2 separate regions of the Homo sapiens genome follow, and region 1 is linked to region 2. Evidence: promoter capture Hi-C in 16 types of primary human blood cells and fetal thymus (Javierre and others, 2016). All regions are on one chromosome and are shown on one strand. The core of a region is centred on a gene start or on the middle of the fragment in contact, and the rest is flanking DNA. Distances in the headings are between cores, read along the strand shown. Region 1 has its middle 170 kb from the start of NR5A2. Region 2 holds the start of NR5A2 (nuclear receptor subfamily 5 group A member 2).

Region 1 (2,700 bases), core at 169-2,668, 170 kb after region 2:
AGTAGAGGTGAGGATTTTTAGGAGATCCAAGTATGAATCTCTGAGATTTCCCTGTGGGGGGCAGGTTTATGTTGACATAAATTGATCTGCAAATTATGTAACTAGAACTACCACATGTATGGTAGACAGCTTGATATGAACTAATATCACATATGCATAAAAGACAGTCTAACTTTTAAAATCATCTTATGAGAAAAATATATATTAAAATAAGCATAAAATGAGGCAGTGCATGGAAACTAAGGTCCATCTCTTTTTTACACTTGAGGGACTAAGACACATGGAGTGGTCCCTGTAGAGCCCATTCCCCACACATTATAGAGTCATGTGAGATGTACCAAGGATAATTCCTTACTGTACAGGAGAGAGACAGTTACTGAGACAGTTCGCTCATTTATTGTTACTTCATTTCTGTCATTTGAGGACCAAGAACACATAGTGCTTGCATTTAAGTATCTGATAAAGCAATGTGGACAGGAAATTTGTTTTATGAATTGTAGGATGGAAAGAAATTAACACATGTTGAATGCCTCCTTTGTGCTAGGTACTTTCATATTCCCATTTAATTTTATTTAAAAAATTCTATACTACAAAGTAGTATTCTTTATACCATAAAAAATTAGGAAACCAAGGCTCTGAGAGGTTAAGCAGAGGGCCCAGTGTATCTCAGCTAGAGGTGATGGAGCTGGTGTTTGAACTTGGTCTCTGGACTCCCAGTACCTGGCTTTTTACATTATCTTACTCTGCAGGAGATAAAAGTGCTTGTAACATTAAGCCACACCATGCCTCGGTTTCCTAGTGCACTGTAGGCATAGGGACCTGGCCATTCTGCTGTGGCTACTCCTGGAGTACATGTATCTCAGTTGCCTGTCTCATTTCATGAGAGCTTTATAACAAGTAAATGTAAGCTATGTTAAGTAAAAATAAGAGGCTATACACATGAGTTTGAGAAATTGCTGATATATTTAAGGTTTAAGAAATTTAGGACTAAAACTCAAAAATTATTCCATTGCTTAAAACTTAATATGCTATAAGGAATCTTGATCCAGATTCTTCTGGGTTAGCATGCATATCAAAAGAAATGCCTGATTATAATAAATCAACTTTTGATTAATATAGCAAAAATTGAAGCTCAATTTTCAATGTGTATGCAGAGTTACTAATTAATATACACACTAAAAAATAGCACATTTAAAAAAATAGCACGAGCCATGTAATCTTGATTTTTTAATATTTCAATGTGGAAAATTATTTTTCACATTTCTTTTTCTGCAGAGATTTTCAAATATTATGCATCATTTTAGACTTAGTTATTGTATATGGATTAAGATCTTTTGTTTTCTTCTTGAGACCGGGTTCCACTGTAGCACTCAGGCTGGAATGCAGTGGCAAGATCTTGGCTCACTGCAATCTCTGCCTCCTGGGCTCAAATGATCCTCCCACCTCAGCCTCTGAGTAGCTGGGACTACAGGCGTGAGTCACCACACCCAGCTATTTTTTGTAGAGAGAGGGTCTTACTATGTTACCCAGGCTTGTCTTAAACTCCTGAGCTCAAGTCAGCAACCCACCTTGGCCTCCCAAAATGCTGGGATTACAGGTGTGAACCACCATGCCTGGCCAAGATCTTAACTTATGGATAAATTCTTAACTTTATCTGACAAAATTGGTTTGCCAGAATGCTCATTGGTGATATTTAATGAGGGTTTACTGTGTATGCATATGCTTACTATGCATATGCTTTGTGTGAATTGTCTTTCTGAATCCTTCCCAACCCATGATGTATTTGGTGTAATTATGCCCATTTTACAGACGAGAAAACCAAAAGGCCATCAGGCTGGCAAAGAGGGGTGTGTGACATGGAACCCAGTATTTTGACTGAAGTCCATGTTCTTATATGTGCTGTGTATCTATAACATCACTGTGCAAGAAGTTAATACTCAAAAAATACTGCACATAAAAACATTACCCCAAAAAGGATAACAGTGGGAAATAGGCTAATATTCACTCCTACATCTCATCCTCTCCCAGGGCAGTGTTGGCTCATGTTCTTTTTAATTCTTGGCATTCTCCTTGAGGTTTTCTGCCCCATGGGTATTGTATAAAGACCTCCTCCAACTAGAATATTGCTGGGGTGGCATTCTGCTTTGTGTAATGCCAAAGTGAAGGTTTCTATGAAGCAGATGCATGCTTTTTTGGGAGAGACCACGATTTCTCCTGAAAGAATGCCACTGGTGGGTGACTACATGGATTCTTTGTCCCCTCTGTTGTGCCCCACTTTGGGAGAGAAGCAAGGATGGGTCTGTCAACCAGGGAAGAGGAGGCGACAGCGGCACAGTCTCTGGAAAAGTGTTGCTGATAGCCTATGGTGTGGAGAAGGGCAGGTTTGGGGAGTATCAGGAGTAGAGGGAAGGAAACAGGCTATCATATTTCTATAGAAGCAAAATGAGCAGCAGGGCTGACAGCCTTTGGCAGCAGGAAATCAGACATTATTTCTGGAGAGAACTTCCTGTCCCTAATGGGTAAACTTATCCACTTCTCACATTTCCCCACTTGTACTAGGGGCTTCCTAAGAAATAAATACTCTTTTTTTTCCTTTTCTTTTCTTTTCCTTTTTTTTTTTTTTTTTTTTTTTGAGACTGAGATCACTGTTGCCCAGGCTAGAGTGCAATGGCATGATCTCAGCTCACTGCAATCTTCATC
Region 2 (2,700 bases), core at 124-2,623:
GGTTGTGTGCTGCTCTCTCATCTTTCTTGTGCCTGTATTTTCTGTGTTATCTGCAGAACAATTGATTGTGTGTTACACCCTGCTTACCTTCCCCATGTTTTCTTTTTCGTAAGTATAGAACATTTTTGGTAAACATTTCCTCAAGTGATATACTTTAGGGTGTAGTTGGCCCATAAAAAAAGCAATCTGTGACTCCACTGCATTCTGTGGAGTCAGCTGACTAGGAAGGAAAAAAGAGGAAAAACTCAAGCCTTGATTTTCTTTCTTGTTATAATGGAGCTGAGACTCAGAGAGCTCATGACAGGCCCCTGCAAATTCGGAGGGAAATTCCAGTCTGAAAGCCTAGGCAAATGCTGCCAGAAAAGGCACAGGTCCTTCAAAAACTGGGGAAAGGCAGAAGGGCCTGACTTCCAACAGACAAATAATTACAGATCACTGGGAATCACTTCCCTTCAGTCCTTTACTTTTAGAATTAATTGAATGTAGTCTTGCTATAAAATTCATAAGTTTGTAACTCTATTTTTTAAATGAATAGTAGCTTTATTTACTTATTTCTGTTTGTAAAAACAAAATATACTAATTGTTGCGAGAAACAGTAGCTCTTCAAATCCTTTACTAATGATGGTCTAGTTTTTTTGGTTTTTTTTTTTTTTTTTTGGAGGTGGGGGCATGACTTTCATTCCCCAGGAAAATAAAATGAAAATTTTTTACGGTATAAGCAGAGAATAAGACACCATACTTTTGTGTGGGTTGAAAAGTAACAAATACTTGACAGCTATCTGTTAAAGTTTGATCAATGATCACTCAATATGATTAACTTGTTTCAAATTGTTCAAATTTTAGCTTATTATTTCTGATTAAAAATTATCAGAAAATATTAAAGTTGAAATTGATAAAGTATAAATTATATTTTCTGGCTGATTAGGGTATTAGAATGACACCAGTAAACACTAGATATAATGAATAATATTCATATGTTGAAATATCCATTTGCTTTTTTTGAACTGCAAGAAAGATAAATGTGTGATATATATACATAGGCTTATTGTGTGCTTTTAATAAACATAATAGGAAAAGCCATGACTTAAAATGCAAAATCCATCAACAAGATTAAATTATATGTATGTAGTAGCAGAATAAATAGATGATCAATAGAGAAACTCCTACTTACCAATAGGTGTAAGTCCGTGCTTTAAAGACTCTTGTAAATCCCCAGTATCTGAATTAGAAGACATTCTTAGTGAAATTATAGGCAGTTCTTTGGCTTAAAGCAGAAATCATTGAGCAAAAGAAAAGTGCAGCTTGTCAAATTTCGTGGCCTTGGGAAGGACACATCAGACTACAGTAACCCTTAGTGAAAGTTAAGAAAAAGCAAAGGAAAAAAAAAAATCCAGAATTCATAAAGTTACAAGCAAGTCTTTCCCTGGACTCTGTACTTTTTCCAACATTAGTGACCTGCTGTAAACCATGTATCCAGTTTCATGATGGTTTCTAATCAGAAGAATGGAAACTTTTGATAGGCTTTGACTCATCACATGACTCTATGCAGGTTGATAAGAGGACCCTGTTATAAAGTGACAGCAAAAGAGATAAGAATTCTTGCCAGATAATGGCAAAGAAATGATTAACTCAGAAGTGGAGAGGTGCTATGCAGCACAGAGAGTGGAAAGTTGTAAAACTGAGGGGTCAGAAGATCAGACTTAGTGGATAAAAACTGCAAACCAGCTAACTAACTTAGGCTAACTAAACTTTGGCTTGTGACATACCCCTTGATGTCATCACCTCTTTGCATAGAGGAGGACAGACATAGCTCTTCTGACCTCTGTAAATACATTTTAGATGATAACATTGGCAGACATTAATTCTTTAAGTGATGACTACAAATGTGATCGACACTCTGAAATACTACAGGTAGCATTTCCAAGCTTATGGTTATTTATTTATTCATGTTGTGGTCAACCAACTTTTTTATCGGGCCTATTCATTAGATGAGGAGTTAACCTTAGCTTGTTTCTACATTGGTCATATGGCTAAAACACAATCTATCTCTTTATCCCCAAAAGGTAAAACTTATGCTTTGAGATTAATGCTGGCAAAATGGTGAATATGTAACACATTTTTCATAGTTATAAAGTTATTATTCTTAGGCTGGGCATGGTGGCTCACACCTGTAATCCCAGCACTTTGGGAAGCCAAGGCAGGCGGATCACCTGAGGTCAGGAGTTCGAGACCAGCCTGGCCAACATGGTGAAACCTCCATCTCTACTAAAAATGCAAAAATTAGCTGGGTGTGATGGTGCACTCCTGTAATCCCAGCTACTTGGGAGGCTGAGGCGGGAGAATTGCTTGAACCTGGGAGGCAGAGGTTGCAATGAGACGCTGTTGCACTTCTCTCTGCAACCCTGGAAGAACACAATCCAAGATCATGCCACCGCACTCCAGCCTGGGCAACAGAGTGAGACTCTGTCTTCAAAAACAACAATAACAACAAAATAACAATTTTTTTTTTTTGAGATGGGTTCTCGCTCTGTTGCCCAGGCTGGAGTGCAGTGGCACGATCTCGGCTCACTGCAGCTTCTGTCTCCCGGGTTCAAGCAATTCTCCCGCCTCAGCCTCCCCAGTAGCTGGGATTACAGGGGCACACCACCATGCCCGGCTAATTTTTGCATTTTTAGTCAAGACGGGGTTTCACCGTGTTGG

Evidence for each region. The method cuts DNA at HindIII sites, captures the fragments that hold promoters and counts their contacts. A CHiCAGO score of 5 or more calls a contact.
Region 1: a contact is called between a fragment that was not itself captured here and the fragment with the promoter of NR5A2 in region 2, in 1 of 17 cell types (megakaryocytes). The highest score is 5.1, in megakaryocytes.

What each region holds. Positions count from the first base shown.
Region 1 is chr1:199,860,983-199,863,682 of GRCh38, reverse strand. No RefSeq gene overlaps it. Among named protein-coding and RNA genes, the nearest start is that of NR5A2, 170 kb to the left of the region's middle. The HindIII fragment of the contact is 5,888 bases long and covers 1-2,700 here.
Region 2 is chr1:200,026,383-200,029,082 of GRCh38, reverse strand. NR5A2 (nuclear receptor subfamily 5 group A member 2) reads right to left here and starts at 1,373. Exons shown (of 8, transcript NM_205860.3): 1 at 1,172-1,373. The coding sequence starts at 1,235. The HindIII fragment of the contact is 3,447 bases long and covers 1-1,927 here.